Regions from separate parts of the Homo sapiens genome. Here region 1 is linked to region 2. Evidence: promoter capture Hi-C in human tissues and cell types (Jung and others, 2019). All regions are on one chromosome and are shown on one strand. The core of a region is centred on a gene start or on the middle of the fragment in contact, and the rest is flanking DNA. Distances in the headings are between cores, read along the strand shown. Region 1 has its middle 26 kb from the start of LINC01765. Region 2 holds the start of TSPAN2 (tetraspanin 2).

Region 1 (5,050 bases), core at 942-3,441, 37 kb before region 2:
ATAACGCGTGTAAAAAGTGCTTGTGGCCGTGCCTGAGACAAAGCTGGTGATTTATTGTATGTATGAACAGGTGGAGCTATCTGAGGCCTGTAACCTACCCATCCCCTCATCTCAGATTTATGACTTCCTGAAGGCAGAAGGAAGATGGGTACAAGAGAGGCACAGCAGGACAATCTCTCCTCAGCCTGAGTGGCACAGGACAGCTGCTTTGTGTGGGTACGTCCTACAGGGGAAGGAGAGGTGTTGGCGCTAGTCTCTGCCTTGGAGAACTCAGAGAAAATGGAATCTTCAGAGAGCTCACATGTGGCTCAAAAGCAGATTTCCAAAGTGACAACCTAAACCCATGTCCCAGACACGACCTGTCTTCCTGCTGGACTAATTCTTCTGAAACAAGAGCTTCTTTCTGTCCTCCCATCCCACACCCCACATCACTAATGTACATTTCTTCCTGAAAAATCTTGGATCAAAACTACCATATGATACTGTATATCTCTTAGATGGCAGTTGACAAAACAATAGGTGCAGCATAATTCTAACTATGCTATAATGCAAATACTTATCAATGATTGGAAGACTATATTCTGAGGTTAACAGTGACTATCTGTTGTTTGCAGGGTGTGGCATTAGAGGTGATTTTTATTTTCCGCTTGGTGCTTTTCTGTGTTTTCCAAATGAGCATACGGAAGTTTCATAATCACAAAATAGAATTTTTAAAATGCCATCACTGGCTTTTCAAAATATACATATCATGCACTTTTCTGATTAAATATGTTTTATTGTTTTTCATGGTTATATAGAATAAAATTCAAACTCTCTTCCATGGCCTACAAGGCTGGACATGACGCAGACCTTCCACACAGCTCCAGCCTGATCTGCCATTCTTGCCATCACCCACCAGCTCCAGCCACAATGGCCTCCTCCTAGATGTGAGCCACAGCTCTACTACTTAGCTGTGTGACCTTGGGCACATTACTTAACCTCTCTGTGCCCTAGATTCCAATTCTGAAAGAAAAAAAGAGACTTAATGATGGTATTTACTTCACAGGATTGTTGTGAGGATTCATTCTAAGAATGCCTGGCTTATAGCAAGCACTGTGTTTTTATTATTATCATTTTCTCCTTCACAGCTTTGCACATGCTGTTCCCTGTGCCGAGCATGAACTTAATAACATTTCTCACCTGGCTGACTTTTTCCCCATCTTGGTTTTGGCTTAAGTATCCCTTGCTCAGAGAGTCCTTCCTGACTGCCCACTCTTAACTCTGCCCATCCCATTATTTTCCCATAGCATCATATTCTTTTCCTTCCAAGCACTTATCAGAATTTATAATTACACATTTACATGTTGGATAATTTGGTTTAATGTTTGCCTCTGCACTAGACTATAAGCTTCATGAGTACCATGGAGGTTTGCCCAACTATGAATAGCCTGGACTCAGAAGAACCTAGCACACAAAAGGTGCTTAATAGGTGTTGGTTTAAAGACTGAATAAAGTAAATAAATGAATGAATGCATTTGGGCTACTCAGATGGATTTCAAATGCTCACTTTTCTTTTTAGAAACTCTTGAGCACTTAGGTGTTCACTTTTAAATCTGCATGTTGAACCATGGCTATGTAGAGCTATTCTGCAGACAGGGTGTGTATGCATTCTTCTTAACCTTGTGATGGGAAGCAACAGAAACCCAGCTTTCTCTTTAGGCCAGGACAAAAGAGAAAGCAACCAAAGGGAGTACAAGAATGTAGCTGAATTCAACTGGACCAGCTCACCATTGTCTTCCTGCCCTGGCTTTTCTCTGCCTGCTGCCTCATTCCCTTCTGCTGACTGACCATCTCCTTGGGAAGTTACCTGGTGGCCAAGGACTGCAGAGCCTCACGGCTTTTGGCTTCCAGTGCCAGAGAGAGGCTGAATCCCTTTTCTCAATTCCAGCTTGGACAAATTTTGAGAAATAATTAATATGCCTAACTTGGTCAGATGGCCATCCCTATGACCATGAGGTCAGGGCATTCTCTGAAAGCACAGACCATGAAGCACAGACAGGGTCACCTGGAACCCACCTCTGCTGGTCCCAGAAGAGAAAGAATGGTTACGAGCCAAGCAGCACTCCAGTGCAATCTACTGTGGTAAGGCATTAATCTCTCTGAAGACAGCCCTTGTATCTCTGGAACACTCCCAGGAAGTGGCTCCAGGGTGCCCCCAAAATGCCATTGACTATTTCATTGATTAAAACTATTATTTGTCCTCTTTTAATTTCTGTATTTATTTTTCCTTTTGTGTATTTATTTTCTATTACTTGTTACTTTCAGATAATATATTAAATTATATTATAATAAGCATCTGTGAACCACCGGCAGTGTGGCCATATTGCACAGTTCTAGGAGTCCCACTCACATTGTAATTCATAATGGTTCCTGGAGTTATTCGAATCCCAGCCTGTACAGTGATACTAGATGACCTTGCTCACCACCCATTCCAGAACTAGACCGCTAATCAAAACACACATGTACTCCTTCCCATCCTCTCCTTCTGCCTCTTCTCTCCTAAAGAGCTAACCACAACCTTCTTTTTAAATATAGTTTACATATATATGCCTGCTGTGGCAGACGGTATTTTCCAAAGATGACCTCAACAATATTTCCCACTTATAAGCTCATCTTGCCAAATGACTTTAATACTTCTCACATTAAAGTAAAGGGTCTATGTCTTCTCCTTGAATCTGTGCAGGCCTTTGTGACTGCCTCTATCAGTATGAAGGAGCTTATGTTGTGTCATCTCCAAGGCTAAGTCAAAAAATGCTGTGCACTTTTATCTTGCTTTCCTGGGGTGCTCCCTCTAAGGGAAGGAGGCAGACATTTAAGCAGTCTACCTACTTATTCAATCTCCTTACTTGCTATCTTTAGTTAGCTTGGGCTGCTATAACAAAAATGCCATAGGTGGTATGGCTTAAATAACAAACATTTCTCACACTTCTGGGGACTGGGAAGTCTAAGATCAAGTGCCAGCTGATTTGGTTCCTGGTGAAGACCCTCTTTCTAGTTGGCAGATAGATCCCTTCTTGTATATTCACATGATGTGGCAGAAAGTGAGTGTTGGTCCCTTCATCTCCTTATAAGAGTACTAATATCATCTTAGGGGCTCCATGCTCATGACCTCACCCAAACCTAATACCTCCCAAAGGTCCTACCTCCAAATGTCAACACACTGGGGTTTAGGGCTTCAACATACAAATTTGGGGAGAATACAAACATTCAGTCCTTAACACTTGCTATAGGTTTATTTAGATTCTGTATTTATTGTTGAGTCATTTCAGTAGTTTGTGTCTTTCTAGGAATTTTCCCATTTCATTTAGTTATCTGATTTGTTGGCATATAATTGTTTAAAGTATTCCCTTAAAATCCTTTTTATTTGTGTAAGGTCAGTGGTGATGTCCCCTCTTTCATTCCTGAGTTTAGAAACTTGGCTCTTCCCTTTTTTTCTTGGTCAGTGTAGCTAAAAATTTACCTATGTAGTAACCTTCAACAATGCTCTTCATTTCTTTACATGGAGTCAAGCTATTGCAAGAGTTCTTTCATTTCAACCTGAAAGAACTCCTGAAAGAACTCCTGTTAGTATTTCTCATAGAGAAGTTATTCTAGTTATTTTTCATTAATTTTTTTGTTTATCTTGAAATGTTTACATTTCTCCCTTTTTTTTTTTTTTTTTTTTGTTGTTGTTGTTGAGACAGAGTCTTGCTCTGTGACCAGGCTGGAGTGTAGTGGCACTATCTCAGCTCACTGCAACCTCCACCTCCTGTGTTCAAGCAATTCTCCTGCCTCAGCCTCCTGGGTAGCTGGGACTACAGGTGCACACCACCACATCTGGCTAATTTTTTTGTTTTTAGTACAGACGGGGTTTCACCATGTTGGCCAGGATGGTCTCAATCTCTTGACCTCATGATCCACCCACCTCTGCCTCCCAAAGTGCTGGGATTACAGGCGTGAGCCACTGTGCCCAACCTCTCCTTCATTTTTGAAGGATAGTTTTGCTTAATATAAAATTCATGATTGACAGCCTCATTCTTTCAGGATTTTCAATTTGTCATCTCACTGCCTTCCGATATGAAGCTAGCTATTAGTCTCATTAATGAGCCCTTGCATGATTAGTTGTTTTTCTGTTACAACTTTTAATCTCTCTTTGTCTTTGACTTTTAGCAATTTGATGATAATGCATGTAGATGTCTTTGAGTTTATCCTACTTCAAGCTTATTGAGTTTCTTGGATGGGAAGATTATTTTTCATCAGCTTTTGGAAGTCTTTATCTATTATTTCTTTAAATATTCTTTCTGTTCCTTTCTCTCTCCTCTCTCTCTGTGAGTCCCATTATGCACATGTTGGTGTGTTTGATGGAAACCCACACATCTCTGAGGTACAGTTCTTTTTTCTTTCTATTACTTAGATTGAATAATCTCAACCTACCTTCAAGTTTGCTGATTTTTTTCTTTTGCTGGCTCATATTTGCTGGTGAGACTCTCTAGTGATTTTTAATTTCAGTTTTTGTACTTTTCAACTTCAGAATTTCTATTTGTTTATTTTTATAATTTGTGACTCATTGATAGTTTCTATTTGTGAGACATCATTGCAATATTTTTAAACAATTAATTTTTAGACATAATTTTTAGATATAATTTTCTTTAATTATGTTCTTTGAATATATTTATAATAGTTGATTTAAATTCTCTGTCTGATAAATTCAACATATGGGCTTCCTCTGGGAGAGTTTCTGTCAACTGTGTTTCCTTGTGTAGGGGCCATACTGACATGTTTCTTTGCATAGCTTTTAATTTTTTATTTAAAACTGGACATTTTAAGTAATAAAATGTGGCAACTCTGAAAATGAGATACTCCTTCCCTCCCACCCATCCTTCTTAAGTTTGTTATTTTTGCTGTTGTTTACTTAGTGAACTAAGTGCTGCTGTTTGTTTCCTAGAATAATTCTGTCAAGTCTATCATCTTTGTCATGTGCAGCCTGTATTCAACTAGCTTGGTGATTGGCTAGTAATTGGAGAGTGGTTTA
Region 2 (5,404 bases), core at 156-2,655:
TGCCAGGCACTGTTCTAGGCACTTCACAAATACTAACTCATTTATCTTCACAACTCTATGAGGGGAGTACTATTACCTCCATGTTGCACGTGGGGACACTCGGGGCCAATGACAGTTTGGCACATTGGTCAGCCGACTGAAAGCTGTGATTTGGCTCCTGCCTTCCTGACTCACTCTGCCCCCACCAGGCTTCACTCGGGCTAACTGCGGTTCTCAGAACTCCCTTGGAGGCCTTGTTCTCTCCAGCTCTGTGCTTTTGCGCATGCTGTCTTCCTGGACTGATCTTTTCCGCCTGGGCTCCGTCTTCTAGACCAGATCAGGCCCCTCTCCTTAGCAATGCCTTTTCTGGTTAAGGCAGTCAGGCCAGGCACACCTGTCTAGCACCCAGCCCTTCTCTCCTCACCCTATTTGCTTACAGATCTGTCTCCAACACCAGAGACTGTGGTTCTGGGCCTGGCTGTCTCCTCATTGTTGAGTCCCTGGGGCTTGCTACTATGTCTGGCCTATAATAGGCACTCAAAGTTTTGCTGAATTTATGCATAAGCTCTCCGAATTTTGCTTTCTTGTCTCCCCCATACTGTCTGACACCACATATTGTAGACACTTAGTCAATGGAAGTGGGAGTCTGATTTTCCTGCCAACAGCCTAACTTAATAAAAACAAAGCAAAACAAAAACCGCCCCCTTCCCCTTTCTCCCATCTCCACATCATAATTAAGATCCCGAAAATTTGGGATCCTTCCAAGCCCTCCGATCAGTGGAACCCGGCAGGACATGAGAAGTCAGACTCCCTCCACTGGCCGGCTGGGTTGAGGGCAGCCCACAGGACTCAGGGCGCCGCCTCCCGCACCCTCTCTCAGTTCTTGCCTATTAAGGTAAGAGTCCCCCGAGGAGGGGGGAGGGGCCGGAGGGAGGGTCCCCTAGAAGCTGCTTGTGTGCTTGCTCCGCGCCGCGGAGCCGCAGCCCTGGACACTCAGTCAGGTGCCCCGCGACTGGTCCTGCCAGCTTCGGGGCAACCTCCGACCCCACTTAGCTCTTCTACCCGAGGTCACCTTCCTAGATTTCCATAGCCACGAGACCAAGTGCTTATCCCTCAAGCATCGCCCGGGCCTCAAACCGGTCTCCGCACAGGGCGCTGATTAAATGGGTCCCCAGTCCCCGGTGGGCGCTCCCGCCCTGCAGGTGCTCCGATAGCCGGCGGCGGTGCGCCCACTGGAGGGAAGGAAGGTGGTCCCTGGGTCCGGGAGAAGAGCGAACGTGCTCCCTCGGGCTGCTCGATCTCCACCCGCTGGCGCCCCCACCCGTCGCCAGCCACGCCGCTTGGGGTCCACGCGCCCCTCCCCGCCGGGCCCCGCCCCGCCCCCCGGAGGCCCCGCCCCGGTCCTCCCCGCTCCGCCCCCTCCCCGCCGGAGCCTGCCGCTCCCCGCGCTCGTAGCGCGGGCCTGGGGACTGGGGATCCCGCCGCCGGGCCGCAGCATGGGGCGCTTCCGCGGGGGCCTGCGGTGCATCAAGTACCTGCTGCTTGGCTTCAACCTGCTCTTCTGGGTGAGACCAGGAGCCGGGAGGGCCGGTCAGGGCAGGGGGCCGGGTGGCGGGCGCGGGGCCGGGGTCCCCGAGCTGCTGACTGCGGCGTCCGAGTCGCGCTCGTGGGGAGGGCTGGGTGCTCAAACGCGGAGGCGAGGAGAAGGCAAACAAAGAGGGAGGGGAGGGATGGAAGGGAGAGAACGGGAAGACAGAAGGTTGATCAATGAGAAATGGTGAGAAGGGGAGAGACACCGTGTGGCTCTTTCCTGGAAGGAACCCCCACCTGCCTTGGTTTTTATCTCCCAGCTAGTGACCCCAGGTGCGGGGACCCAGCCTCTCCTCACCTCCGGAGGACTTGGGTCCCTGTTCCCCTCCAGTCTCCCGTGCACACACCCCCTTTTCACTCTGCCTACCAGCTGGAACCAGGGCCTGGCCAGGGTGATGGGAGAGAAACCCCTGCCCTGGGGCTGCCTGGGGTGGTGCTCCATTCGAGTGTGTGGACACTGTACCTGGCTGTGATGGTTTTGTTTAGGAAATTGGAGATAGGAGTGAAAATTGTGGTGGGGGGGCGTCGTCCTTTTTCTGGGCATCAGGGTAAGAGTACCCCTGGGTGAGAGGAGGTGGTGGGTTCTCTTCTGAGAAGGGGATGGGGAATGGAAGGGCTTCTAAAGGGCAGCAGCAGCTCTCCACAACCCCCAGCCGCAGCCTCTGCTAAATACTAATTCTCCCAGAGATGATCTCATTCAACTTTGCAGGGTTTGATTGAACTGACAGCGTTCCCAGGATTCATGGTTCACAGAGAGATAGGATCTTGACCCTTGTCTCCTATATTATCGAGACAGGGATACAGCTAGACCAGACCTACATCCCTGGATACCCTGTCCCAGGGCCTGCAGGACTGTGAGACAAGGTCTGAAAATTGTCTTTTCTGCACATTTCCTCTTGGGCTTTCTTAAGAGAATGTCAGCCAGTGTAACTGCTCAGCTAGACCCTGAGGGGAAACATTGGATAAAGAGGTTTGAGAGCAGCCAGGGCCTGGGTGCTTTGAAACTACCAGGTTGGAGGAGGTGGCTGTCCTATCTGCTCTGGGGGACGTTGTCTTCCCATGATTGCAACTAATTAATTATTGAATGATGGGCTCCTCTTTTGTCTGTCAATCCATTAGCCCAGATGCCTGGGTGACTTCAGCAACTCCAAGCTCTTCAGTATCCTTCAGCAGTGGAAGGTGTGAAGGAGGTACCTCCTCGACATCCCCTGAACTTTAAAGAGACACATGGCCTTTGTACACGTGGGGATTTACATCAAGCATACTATAGGGAGAGGCGTTTCTGAAGACCCTTTATGTTGTATTTTTTAGGAATCTGGCTTAATTTCAGAAGCTGTTAATTATAGATGTCACGCCACAGTGACAACCTTCATTCTCACTGCTTATGAATTCAAAGCCTTATGAAGTTTTAAGCCTGAGGAGGAATTCTTAAGCTGGGTTCAGTGCTTATTTAGTGGCTGATATTGTACCAGCCTTTCCAGTGATAGCTGGAAGGATTCATTGAATGTTTTCAATGTGTCAGGGACAGTGCTAAGCATATTACTTTCATTATTACACATAATCCTCACAAGAGTCCTGATATACATATACTATTATTATCCCCATTTTTTACAGATGAGGAAACAGGCTCAAATTGGTTAAGTCACCTAAGATCACACAGCTAGTGAGTGGCAGGGATGGTATTCAAACTCAGCCTACCTTCTCTTTTTTTTTTTTTTTTTTTGAGACGGAGTCTCACTCTGTAGCCCAGGCTGGAGTGCAGTGGCCCGATCTCCACTCACTGCAAGCTCCACCTCCCAGATGCACGCCATTCTCCTGCCTCAGCCGCCCAAATAGCTGGGACTACAAGCACCCTCCGCCACGTCTGGCTAGTTTTTTTGTATTTTTAGTACAGACGGGATTTTACCGTGTTAGCCAGGATGGTCTCCATCTTCTGACCTCATGATCTGCCTGCCTCAGCCTCCCAAAGTGCTGAGATTACAGGCGTGAGCCACCGCGCCTGGCCGCCTACCTTCTCTTAAGCACTGTGGTACATTCAATTAACCAGTGGTTCTCAAAAGTGGTTCCTGGGCCAGCAGCATCAGCATATCCTGGGAATTTGTCAGAAATACAAATTCTCAGGCCGGGCACAGTGGCTCATGCCTGTAATCCCAGCACTTTAGGAGGCCAAGGCAGGCGGATCACCTGAGGTCAGGAGTTCGAGACCAGCCTGGCCAACATGATGAAACCTCATCTCTACTAAAGTACAAAAATTAGCCGGGCATGGTGGTGGGTGCCTGTAATCCCAGCTACTTGGGAGGCTGAAGCAGAAGAATCTCTTGAACCCGGGAGGCAGAGGTTGCAGTGAGCTGAGATGGTGCCACATTGCACTCCAGCCTGGGCAACAAGAGCGAAACTCCATCTCAAAAACAAACAAACAAACAAACAAAATTCTCAGCTCATCCCAGACTTGCTGAATCAGAAACTCTGGGGGTAGGATCCAGCAATCTAATTTAACAAGCCATTCACATAATTCTGATCCATGCTCAAATTTGAGACCCATTCTGTTAAACAATGATTAAACAAATAATAATTTATAAATATAAACACAGTTCCCTAAGCTGCTCATCTCATTGAGGAAACGAGACCAGTGGATATGGAACAACACAAAAATAAGACAGTGTGGAATCAAGTGACAAGTTTCACACTGTTGACCGTAAGCACAGTAAGGAAAGGAAGTAGGAGCAGTGCAGTTTTAAGTGCTTGAATGTGTTAACCAGTGAGGTTAGATCCGACCTTCTCTATATGTGATCTAAGTAAGGAGTTTAGAGAAAGGATCACAGTCATGATGAGGAGCCAGAAAAGTTCTCCTTAAGAAGGAGCTATTCGAGCTAAACCTGGAAGGACTGGTAGAATGGAGCTGGGCAAAGCGAGGGGGTGACGCACCATCCACCAGCAGAGGAGCAGAGCAAGGGGGAGTGTGCGCCACCATCTGACTGTCGAAGCCATCAGGCTGGAGTGCAGAGATCCCAAGCAGGGCGTGCCTGCACAAACAGGGTGTACTTGAGCAAGTTATTGTTACTTCTAGGCTTGTTTTCTCATCTGTGCTATTGGAGTAACAGAAATATTGAGAGGATTAAGAGGGAATATATAAAGTATGTGACCTCAACTTCCTATGAGCCTAGGACATAGTAAATGCTCAAAAATATTAATTATTATTTTTGTTATCGGCACATAGGAAGCATTCAATAAATGTTAGCTCTCTTTCTCCTGATTCCTTTCTTGGTGGGGAATAGTATATAAGTTTGCCAAGTGACTTGCCATTTGTCTTCATTTGAGGATAACTACACCTTATCTTGTCAATTTGTACTTGTGGATTTTCCCCACTAGAACTTAAAACACTCTGAGAGCAGGAATTTTGTTTTTTCTGTTTTGCTCATAGCTGTATCCCCAGTGCTAGAATAGTGCCTAGCATATAGAAGGCATGCAGTAGGACATGAAGGACCTTCCTCTCCCCCAGTTTCATGGGGGGTGGGGGTGGAGGCAGCAACTAGAGCGAAGAGGCAACTGAAACAGGCACCTCATGACTTAAGGGAAAGTGTGGGATAAAGTATCTAGATATCTGCCTTCACTGTAACTGAGGGAACCTGATTCCAGAAAAGCCCCACTCAAGTTTCTAAAGTTGTTTTTTTGTGGTTGGAGGGCTTCGTGGGAAGTTTGGGAAAGGGGTGGGGGATAGTTTTCCTAGAAGGCCAGACTTTAGCTGTGACTGAAGTATAAATTTACACACACCCTTAGAAGCTCATGTGCCTGCCCCTCGGAGTTACGGGGTTCCTTGGGTGACAGCACTTCCTTC

The links. The method cuts DNA at HindIII sites, captures the fragments that hold promoters and counts their contacts. A contact is called where the count stands out against the background at its distance.
Region 1: a fragment that was not itself captured here is called in contact with the fragment with the promoter of TSPAN2 in region 2 in 1 of the 25 tissues and cell types used here (aorta).

Annotation. Positions count from the first base shown.
Region 1 is chr1:115,123,619-115,128,668 of GRCh38, reverse strand. No RefSeq gene overlaps it. Among named protein-coding and RNA genes, the nearest start is that of LINC01765, 26 kb to the right of the region's middle. The HindIII fragment of the contact is 5,608 bases long and covers 1-4,995 here.
Region 2 is chr1:115,085,504-115,090,907 of GRCh38, reverse strand. TSPAN2 (tetraspanin 2) reads left to right here and starts at 1,405. Exons shown (of 8, transcript NM_005725.6): 1 at 1,405-1,544. The coding sequence starts at 1,476. The HindIII fragment of the contact is 11,658 bases long and covers 1-5,404 here.